Regions from separate parts of the Homo sapiens genome. Here all the other regions are linked to region 2. The links are contacts of gene promoters, found by promoter capture Hi-C in human tissues and cell types (Jung and others, 2019). All regions are on one chromosome and are shown on one strand. Each heading gives the region's core, a stretch centred on a gene start or on the middle of the fragment in contact. The rest is flanking DNA. Distances are from core to core; before and after follow the strand shown.

The links. Contacts are between HindIII fragments. The study calls those that stand out against the background at their distance.
Region 1: a fragment that was not itself captured here is called in contact with the fragment with the promoter of CCR7 in region 2 in 2 of the 25 tissues and cell types used here (IMR-90 fibroblasts and pancreas).
Region 3: a contact is called between a fragment that was not itself captured here and the fragment with the promoter of CCR7 in region 2, in 2 of the 25 tissues and cell types used here (IMR-90 fibroblasts and mesendoderm cells).
Region 4: the fragment with the promoter of KRT28 here is called in contact with the fragment with the promoter of CCR7 in region 2 in 1 of the 25 tissues and cell types used here (mesendoderm cells).

Annotation. Positions count from the first base shown.
Region 1 is chr17:40,747,906-40,750,605 of GRCh38, forward strand. It overlaps KRT25 (keratin 25), which reads right to left. Exons shown (of 8, transcript NM_181534.4): 6 at 2,475-2,692; 7 at 1,353-1,420; 8 at 116-481. The coding sequence ends at 372. Among named protein-coding and RNA genes, the nearest start is that of KRT25, 6.1 kb to the right of the region's middle. The HindIII fragment of the contact is 7,107 bases long and covers 1-2,700 here.
Region 2 is chr17:40,564,169-40,566,868 of GRCh38, forward strand. CCR7 (C-C motif chemokine receptor 7) reads right to left here and starts at 1,304. Exons shown (of 3, transcript NM_001838.4): 1 at 1,232-1,304. The coding sequence starts at 1,241. RefSeq lists an enhancer at 1-859. The HindIII fragment of the contact is 11,021 bases long and covers 1-2,700 here.
Region 3 is chr17:40,765,856-40,768,555 of GRCh38, forward strand. KRT26 (keratin 26) reads right to left here. Exons shown (of 8, transcript NM_181539.5): 7 at 1,731-1,798; 8 at 383-811. The coding sequence ends at 660. Among named protein-coding and RNA genes, the nearest start is that of KRT26, 5.0 kb to the right of the region's middle. The HindIII fragment of the contact is 8,204 bases long and covers 1-2,700 here.
Region 4 is chr17:40,798,648-40,801,347 of GRCh38, forward strand. It overlaps KRT28 (keratin 28), which reads right to left and starts at 1,312. Exons shown (of 8, transcript NM_181535.3): 1 at 797-1,312; 2 at 270-352. The coding sequence starts at 1,246. LOC105371776 (a long non-coding RNA gene) reads left to right here and starts at 2,687. Exons shown (of 4, transcript XR_934753.2): 1 at 2,687-2,700. RefSeq lists an enhancer at 1-490. The HindIII fragment of the contact is 10,010 bases long and covers 1-2,700 here.

The sequences.
Region 1 (2,700 bases), core at 55-2,554, 180 kb after region 2:
GAAAACCTATGAGGAAATCTATTATTTTGAAAGAGTTTTTATATAATAAAAGCTGTTAGATGTTCACATATTTATATTGCACACATAAACATTCTAAAGACAGTATCACCAATGATAACTTGCTAAAGAAGAGGTTTATTGAATACAAAGAATTGACAACAGATTTCTGTAGGATAATCAAATGAGTCATATTTGTGTGTGGCATTCTTCTAGATGAATGGGGAGATGCTGTCATTGATTGCCCAGAAAGAAAGTAACAGAAAGACAACAGGTTAGACATTTTTCTTAGACATGCACATTTTTCTGGACAGATACATAATGCCTTTTCTTCGCAGGGGCTATGTGGCATACGTTCTCTGTTGCATCTCAAATTAATTGCTTTGAGATTTCTCTTCCAGGGAGTGGAGCCTGGTGGTAAGTATTTTGCTGCGTTGGTCTACCTCCTCAAGAACTTTCTTAACCACTATGGCTTTGGCTGGGTCTGAGCATTAAAAATTAAAAGGAGATTTTATGTAGTTAAAAAAAGAATAAAAATTATATCATTTAAAGGAATAATAGGATTTGCATACAGAATGAACTTTGCACTAAGCACAAATACTTAGACTCATTTTTGGTGAATAATTTTGATTATTTGGTTAGAAAAAACATGGTGACATGTTATTTTGTTTAAAATTAGCACAAATCACTAATATTAGACATCTAGCACATATGGATATCTACTACAAATCTTTATTGTATGTATTCTTACCAAGCCATGGTAATATAAGAACAATCAAGCTATGCATTAAAAATGAAGTAGTTGGGTATATATACCCAGAGGAATAGAAAACATTCTACCATAAAGACACATGCATGTGAATGTTCATTGCAGCATTATTCACAATAGCAAGAACAAGAAATCAACCTAAATGCCCATCAGTGACAGACTGGATAAAGCCATAAACACCATGGAATATTATGCAGCCATGAAAAAGAACAAGATCATGTCTTTTACAGGAACATGGATGGAGCTGGAGGCTATCATCCTTAGCAAGCTAACGCAGGAACAGAAAACCAAACACCACATGTTCTCACTTATAAGTGGGAGATAAATGATAAGGACTTATGAACACAAAGAAGGAAACAACAGATACTGGGTTCTACTTGAGGGGGAAGGGTGGGAGGAGGAAGAAGAGCAGAGAAGATAACTATTGGGTACCGGGCTTAATTCCTGGATGATCAAATAATATGCACAACAAACCTCCGTGACACGTGTTTACCTATGTAACAAACCTTCCAATGTACCCCCAAACCTAAATTAAAAGTTAAAAAATAAAAAATTAGCATTGCACAACAGATTTCATTTTAATTACCTTTGACTTGACTTCCCACATTTCCAGATCCATAATCTTTAGACTTGTAACCCCCAGACTTACAGGCTCTGTGAAAACATCGCAAAAGAGGGTGATTTAGAGAGAACCCCATCAATTCTAGGATCACCATATGGTTTTCTTTAGCTCTTTGGTAGTTTCAACTGTGTAACCCAGTATTTGATTTATAGTGTTTGCTGATTTCTGTAGAGGTATGAATACCTTCTCCATTGCTGATATCAAGTCACCAAGTGACATCACTAAGTGAGGGGTTAGGAAGAGAAGAGATAGGCAGAAGAGGCTGTCATGAGATGGTAACAGCAGTTCTAGCATGCCACTGGGTGTATTTATACAACTTAGGTTGAAATTCACCCTTTTAAGTTTTGCAGGTTTATGAATTGTGACAAATTTATATAGCTGTGTAAGGATTTACATTTGGAAGCATCACTCTAGTCAATGAGGGAGGGTTTGATGATAGGTGGGGAAGAGTGGTGTAGATCGCTTCAGCAGTTAGGCAATTACAAGATACTTTTCCTAAGTGGGGTTTTCTCTGAGACTGTAATGTTTTTGTTCTGCTTCAGCATTAAGAAGTGATTTTTTTTTCTGTATGATTCCTTTTATATTAACATCAAGAATGGATAAAATAATAACTGCCAAGGGAAGTGGGGCACAGAAGAACTTTCTGGGGTGATGAAAATGATCTTCATTGTGAATTCAGGAAGCTTCCTGCTCCTAACAACCCTGAGCTCTAGACATCCAGACTTGTGGCCATGGGACTTTATCAGTGCTATGAAGACAGGATTCTGTGAGTGCTGAGCTCCAGAAACCATTTCCAGAGTCAGAATCCTGGTCCACATATTGAAACTCCATTTAGCCTCCCGTTTGTTCTTTTCACTCTAGAAGTGATATTTTCAATGTTCATATCTTGAACTCGGTGCCTGCTGCATATTGGTTTAAGATATTAATTTGTATTTTGGCAGTTGAGTATGTATTATATTTAATATTTAGTATTCATGATAATAAATGCATGCAGCCAAATTATGTCCGCTTTCCAGTGGAAAGTGGGATCTAAGTTGCAAGCAGATTTCAGTATATTACGCCATCTATGCAGATTATTTTACCTACCCATCATCTCCTCCTATAAGGAGACAGTAGGTCTCAATTTCTTTTTCCAGGTGGAGCTTGATGTCCAGGAGCTGCTCATACTCCAGCTTCTGGCCCTCGGTCTCGGTTCTGACCTGGTGCAGCTGCTCCTCCAGGGCCCCGATCTGAGCCTGGATCTGCGCCAGCTGCGCACAGTAGTTGCTCTCGGTCTCTGTCAAGGAGCACTCCAGGGAGTGTTTCTGTCAGG
Region 2 (2,700 bases), core at 54-2,553:
GATTTTCAAAAACTAAACTCTACGGAGTTCTTGATACGGTGTATTCATTCATTCCGCAGACATTTTCTCCTCACATCCTCAAAGCACCTGAACCTGCCTTTCAGGAGTTCACAGTCAGTGGGTGGGGTGACCACTTTAACCCTTTCACAGCTGTTTGCTGGGTCCAGATCCAGCGTTCAGGGCAGGCGGGAAAGTAAGAGATGAAATCAAGGAGGCTGTGGTGTGGCGAGGAGGGGTGTGAGGACAGCACCAGGGAACCTTCACTTTTTAAAGCCAACCCTTTGCGGCTTTGAGGCCGCCGTGGTGCATTGTTTGCTGGTGAGACAAGCCATCTAGGAACCTGGTCTTCTTAGCCTCAGCCTGGTCTGACTCCACAGCTGAGATTTATAAAGGGGGCGTCTGGAGCTGGATGAACCACTCAGAACACCCTCAGTGCTTCCCCTTGACCCCTTCTAGGTTAGACCTGAGAAAGGGCTTTCTAAAGAGTAGAGTTATCTGCCGGGGCAGAGTGCGTGAGGTTTGCTCAGGGGCAGGGGCTGTGCTGAAGGCCTGGCTATGATTTCTCCAAGCTGAGTGCCCCTTGCCATCCCATTCCATGTTGCCTGCCCGTTCCTTAACTTGCAAGAGGCAACAGCAAAGCCAGATCAAAGCAGGTGGGATGTGCAGCAGAGAGAAAGCAACCAGAGCTTGCATTTGCAATGCACCGCACCATTCTCACAACCCAGTCACGTTTCATTTGCATCTCCTCATGACCCCAAGTGGACAGGTATATGAATATTTGGCAGGGGAGAAAGGTGGGAATCAGAGAGTGGGTAAAAGGTCCTAAGCTCTCTAGGGAGAATTTCTCTGTTGAAACCTGTCCCCAGAGGTCCCAGAGGGCCTAACCTATCACCCTCATGATGAGAACAGGTTCTGCCAGACCACCAAGCCCAGCCCCGCCACTCTCTTATGTCCCTGCTGTTTTAGAAAGACATGATCTCGGCCCCTCCCTTGTCCCCACTGGCACCAAAGGCTGACCCCTTCTCCAGGTCTGAAAGGGCAGGTGCACCCCTCCTGGGACAGCAGGGGGCATTCTCTGGAAGTAGCTTCCAATGCCCACCAAATCAGAACTGATTTCTCCAGGAAGCACCCCTATGCGCTCCACCCGCATCCTCCACCCCCATTCCACAGGGTCAGTCTGGGTGTCCAAGACCCTGGTACTGTTCCTTCTCACATGAAGAGGCTCACTCACCCAGGTCCATGACGCTCTCTGGGCGGTAAAACCACACAGGAAGGCTGTGCCCGGCCTCGCACTACCCCTGTCTGGGGAGGAAGTGGTTCAAGCCCCTTTTAAGTTGTCGGAGAAGCCACCCTCTTCCCTGCCCCTCCCACCCTTGCTCCTCCCCCCAGCCCTCCCTGACTCATGCAGGGCCCCTTCAATGCCTTCAGAGATAAAGGGGCAGAAGAAAGGTGACAGAGGGTGACAGTCGCTGGTCATAGGATCCTGAATCATTAGGTCATTTACATTCAAAAAGCCCCCTGCGCTGCCTGGCAGAATCTAGATGAGGGGCCATTTACTGATTCAACAAATATTTATAGCATGAATATCACATGCCAGGCCATGGGTTAGATGTTGGGGAGTCAGAGATGTGTGAGAGAAGTGTCCCCATCCTTCCCTTGCTCTGCTCAGTGTCACAGTGGAATATAGTCCCAAATGGCTTTCCCTCTGGCTTCTGGGTAGTTTAGGCCAATGGGAGGCACTGACACATAATGACAGGTAAAAGGGAAGAGATATGCCACGATGTATCTTTTTTCTCCCCCCTTCCCCTCCCCTCCCCTCCCTCCCCTTTCCCTCTTCTCCCCTCCCTTCCTTTTCCTTTCTTAATGACAGCTTTATTGAGCTATAATCCACATCCCATAAAATTTACCTTTTTAAAGTATAGAATTCAATGGTTTTTGTATGTTCACAGAGTTATGCAACCATCACCACAATACATTTTAGAACATTTTTTCTCACTCCCTCTCAAGAACCCTGTAATCACTAGCAATGACTGCTCCCCTCCCCTCCTGTCATCGAAAGCCCCTGGCAACCACAAATCTACTTTCTGGCTCTATAGATTTTCCTATTCTGAACATTTCACATAAATAGAAGTATCAATATGTGACCTTCACATCTGGCTTCTTTCAGTTAGTGTTTTCAAGGTTACCTATGTGGTGGTATGGATCCATTCCCCATTCCTTTTTATGGCTGAATAACATTCCATTGTATGGATATGCCACATTTTGTTTGTCTGTCATCAGTTGGATGTTTGGGCTGTTTTCCCTTTTAGCTATTATGAATGATGCTGCTATAAATATTTATGTGCAAGTGTTTGTGTGGACATATGCTTTATTTCTCTTGGGTATATACCTAGAAGTGAAATTGTTGAGTCATATGGTAATTATATATTTAACATTTTGACGAACTATCAAACTGTTTTCCAAAGTGACTACACCATTTTGTTCCCATCAACAATGCGTGAGGGTTCCACATTGTCAACAAAACTTACTATTGTCCATTCTTTTGATTCTAGCCATCCTAGTGGCTGTAAAGTGGTATCTCATTGTGTTTTTTTTCTTTTTTCTTTTTTTTTTTTGGAGATGGAGTCTTACTCTGTTGCACAGGCTGGAGTGCAGTGGCACGATCTTGGCTTACTGCAGTCTCCACCTCCTGGGTTCAAG
Region 3 (2,700 bases), core at 29-2,528, 200 kb after region 2:
TTACCATGGTAGAGGCAGAGAGATGCATGTGCTGGAAAATGGAAAAACGGCTTTCCAGGTTCAGATTTTACAACAAACATTTGCTGATCACCCAGGCTAGGCATTGTAAGGGTAAACAAATCCTAGTGATCAGTGGGTATTATCTTCTTCTTTTATGTCCATAGACACTCAAACCCAAGAAGATCAACTTATTTACGTAGTCAATCAGGGACAGATTTGGGACCAGACATTAGAGCTAGTGCTCTTTCCACCTTATTCTGTTATTAATTGAGGTAACTGTGACTATGAAATGAAACACATTATTTTATTAGCAGGTCCTTAGTATTGCCACATTGGGATCAACTTTAGCAATTAAAAAGAATCAGATATTAAAAAAAATAACTTGCAATAGAAGAATTTTTAATGAAATGTCAAAAAAGGCCCCCAAAATAAAAACAAAAATTAGGGACAGAGCAGGATTTTTCTACTCTGGAAAAGGATTACATGCATAGAACATGAGAAAAGGAAGAGAAGGAGAACAAATTCTAGCCCTTTTAAGAACAGAAATGAATAATTTCCTTAGGTTATTTGACCAGTAGGATTTTTGCAAAGGCAGCCTTTCTTTCTTTCTTTCTCTCTCTCTCTCTTTCTTTCTTTCTTTCCAAATAACTTTTTCCTCATTATGGTGCTTTAGAAGGTACTCGTTGCTCTACTGTAATGTTGCTTATTTTAGAGGACTTTTCTTCAACTGAGTGGACTCTCAGTGAAAGGAGATTGCCAATTTGATCCAGTTCCTCAACCACTGTTTTAACAATAGTTTCTTCTGTTGAGTCTAAAATAAAATAAATAAAACATTAGTGGTCATTTTTTAACAGGTTGAAAAGTAGCCATAATAGGTATGCTTTTTGTTTGTTTGTTTTTTTGAGAAGGAGTCTCGCTCTGTCACCCAGGCTGGAGTGCAGTGGCATGATCTCGGCTCACTGCAGCCTCTGCCTCCCGGGTTCAAGAGATTCTTCTGCCTCAGTCTCCCGAGTAGCTGGGATTACAGATGCCTGCTACAATGCCTGGCTAATTTTTGTATTCTTAGTAGAGATGGAGTTTCACCATGTTGACCAGGCTGGTCTCGAACTCCTGACCTCAAGTGATCCACCTGCCTTGGCCTCCCAAAGTGCTGGGATTACAAGCATGAGCCACTGCACCTTTTAAAAAATGTTTGCTTTTTAAAAATGTTTTTTGCAAGTTTGCAGTAAATCGATATATAATACTGTGTTTGAAGTCAGTGTTTAGCAAGATCCTGGACTATCTCTCTTATATTTGCCACTGCTTTTAGAGCAATGGGCATTTGAAAACATAAATGAAACATGGATTAAAACAATCTAAGTATCAGGCAGTAAAGGCTGGCTGCAAGTAATGTTGTCTTCTTTTAAATACCAACTTGCCCGATTTTTGTGGTTTAAGATAAAGTAGCTCTTTTATCAAAGTATTGAAACTATGAAAGATAATACATTCCAGGTAAGAAACATGTTGTGGGATTAATTCCTCATTTCAATAATTTCATAATTTGACCACATCTGTTGATCTACGGGAATATAAAATACAAATATTAAGAACTATCATAATGACCCCTCATCCCTTTATTCACCAGAAGTAAACTTAAAAACAAATTTTATTTAGTTAAAAAATAAGTAACTTAGTTAACACAATTGATGGAGTTTAAGGAGTTACACCAGGTAAAAAAAATCTATCTATACCTTTGGCTTGATTTCCAGAATTCACAGGCCTGTATCCTTTTGATTTGTAACATGTGGATTTGCTTTTTCTGTGAAGAGAAGAGTAAATTATTGCATTTTTTTTTCTTTCCTTAGTGAGCTTATAAATACCTCTAAATTGGAAATAAGAGTTTTGGAATTCTAGTTTCAATAAGATTCAAATTCCTTATATATTTAAAGGACATTAATAAGCTTTTCATGACTTCAACATAGTGAAAGAAGAGATTAAATGGATGTTTATGAATAGAAATTTTCTCATGACCAGAAATTACCTCTTTCATCTAGCAATATTTCTCACTCTGACTTTTCAATCAACTGGCCAGTGAATGTGTTTGGAGTGCCTACCATGAAAAAGGTGTTGCTGGGCTAGGTGCTGCAGAAGATATAGAACCAAGACACAGTTTTTACAGTTGGAAATAAAGTATACACATGCAAAAAGTTACCTATAACATGAAAAGTGCTGTAAATTAAGTGAAAAGTGAGTGGTGTAATGAGTGCTTTGTTCTGAGGAGGGAGCAATCACTGTTGGGTTCCTGTGAGAATAGGCTGCAGAGGGCTGATGGGCCTTGGAGGGTGCAAGACGTTACCTCCTCACTATGCGGCCATGGGCAAGCATTTAGTAATAGGCAGTGATTACCAAATACCTTTTCTGTGTATGCCACTGTCATGAGCTCTTTACCTATGTAGTGAGACATTATAGTTAAGACTTGTTACAAGTATGGTTTTGGCTTTATCACAATTTCATCAACGAGGAAACTGCATTTGAAAAGGTTAAACAATGTGCTCATAATTCACCCAGTATTTGATTCACAGCCAGGGCTGCAATTCCAGGGCTGTTGCTATTGACTAAGAAACTATGGTGCCTCTCCAATTAATTCTTCCTATATCTTCATTGCTCATCTTTAATACAAGGTACATGTGGGGTAACTAGTGAAGTGATAAGAAAAGAGAA
Region 4 (2,700 bases), core at 62-2,561, 230 kb after region 2:
TAACGTTTTTCCTTAGTTGACTAATGATTTACTGAGCATCTACTTTGTGCTTGGCAGTATTCTAGGCAGGCAGAGAAATATATTGATATTTTGTCCCAGGAATATAATAACTATGTATAAGTTGATTGTAACATTATAATACAAATCCTTTGCTTCCTTTTATCTTTTAGGTGATAGTTCATTCTACTTGGGATGAAATAGAAATTTTATTTAACAAATTAAATAAATAGAAACTTTTTTCTAGAGCAGGATTTTCTTCTGTCACTTACTTTAGCCTGAAATCATCAGCAGCCAGTCTGGCATTATCAATCTGCAGAATGACATTAGCATTAGTAGTAGTGGAGGAGATAATCTAGAATAAACCAAAACAGAGAACACAACAAGTAAGTATGCTTTTATGTGATTCATTATTTCAGGAAATGAAAAAGGTTACTCAAGTTTTTGCATAAAAATTTCACCTCCTTATGTAATAATCAAAATGTTTCAAGTTTAACTTTTAAAAATTAAAGACATGGTTTTATTTATTCTCATATATTCCCCTAAATTTAGAACTACAATACTTTTTTATTCATATGCCTATGAATGTACTTCAACATAAACAATGGAACTAATAACATTTTAACTACATTAAAATTCATGAATCAAAGGGCCCATTTTTGAATAGTAGGAAGAATTGTTTATCTAAATAAATAAATACAAGTTATAACAGTCATGAAGCATTTCTTATTGTATGTCTTTTGTTAGGTATTTCTTAGTTTTAAATACTTGGGTTAGTTCCAAATCTGTGATTTCTCACCTTATTCTTAAGATCCTCAATTGTTAGGTGATATCTGCTATAGTCATGATCAAGTCCACGGCAAGATCCAGGTCCGTATTTTTCATACCAACCCTTGATTTTTCTCTCTAATTCAGCATTTGCCTCCTCCAGAGCTCGCACATTATCCAGGTAGGATGCCAAGCGGTCATTAAGATTTTGCATGGTCACCTTCTCATTTCCAGAGAGGAGTCCCCCTTCGCTTCCAGCAAAGCCAATACAAGCAGCATTTCCAAGGGCACCACCAGCATGGCTCCCACCAGGAACACTGCCCAAGCCCCCTCCCAAGGCACAGGAAAATTCACTTCCAGCAACAGAGCCACCACATGCACTGCTGCCTGCAAAGCCTGCACCTCCATTGAGGGGTCTGACAGATCCAGCTCCAGACCTTAAGCAAACATGCCTGGATCCATTAGAAAATTGGAGAGACATGGTGTTTTGAGAAATGTTCACCTTGTCTATGCAAAACTGTAATGTCCCAAGAGAACAGAATATCATGCACTGATAATTTCTTTGGGTTTTTATATATCATTATTGGGGCGTTCCTATTTGAGTTATACATGCCAAAAGCAAAATGGCATCACTTAGATTAGCATAAAATTATGTATAATTGGGTGATTTTAAAAATAATTAATGTCTAACATCCCTCGGTGTTGCTTTGGGCTATTTCTTATCTTAAATATAATAGGGTTTGTTCTATATTAAGTTTATTAATTTAACTTCTAATTTTGAGTGAGTAATCCTTTCCTTTCATCTAGACCCTAGGCATATACTGTCATTATCTGGCGCCAGGTATTATCAAATTTTTTATAAAGTTAAGTAAGATTATGATAGAGTTCTGTGAGGTACAGTAGGGTCTCAATTACCATGGAGGGGTATAAAGGACTGCTAATTACAGAAACAGATATTTTATCCCACCAGAAAAAAATGTGTTATTTAGAAAACAGAGGCTAGTGACATCTCTGTTCTTACCATGATTATAACATCTATTTATTATCTTGGACAATGACACAAATATTGACCTATTATTTTGTTTAAAATAGCATGGTTATGATGTTTGGTGCTCTATGCTAAGTGCTAAAATGAAAGACATAGTGTTAACTAAATGCAGAAGTGAAAAATGCGTGATTACAATCTTTAAGAAATCTATTGTCAGGTCCAGACAGGGGCTGGATCATGGTTAGCTTTCTGTGCTGGTCTAAAGAGTTTGTAATGAATCCTAAGTAAAAAGCAGAGGGCAAAATGATCAGGTTGAAATGAAACAAGGTGGTCAATTACAAGGTTGGAATAATGGTCCAGGTGAGAAGGATGAAGGCAGTGGGGATGCAGAGAAGATGGCTTTGAGAGCATATGGTAATATGATTGAATTTGGAGAGTAGGGAATAAGGCAGAATTGGGGATAACTCTTAGGTAATTAATTTTAGATTCTGGGAACTCATAATATTCACTGAGATGGGGAATAGAGGAGGAGGAAGACACTGAGTTTAGGTTTGGACCAACTGGATTTGAGGGGTTGCCAGAATGTTCCAGATGAAGGTGACTGATAGCAAGAATGACTGTTTAGAATATGTATACTGAACTGGAAAAATACTTGACTAGCAATGAGTAAAAGAAAATTGGAGGGTCCAGCTCTCATTTATAATGATGTTCAACTGCATATTTGGAAGTAATCCTGGTGCAGGAATAGAAAGGATGATGATCAGATTGATGTGGGTTTTGGGATTTGAAGACAGGTCCAGAAGAAGGAAATAGTGGCAAAGAAATTTCTGGTGTTCTTGAGAAAACAATTGAGGCGATTGACTGTATGATCATATAGCAAGAAGAAAGTAAAACCAGAGGGACAGATGGACTGAAGAAAAGGGCAGAGGGTGAGTCATTGGGTATCC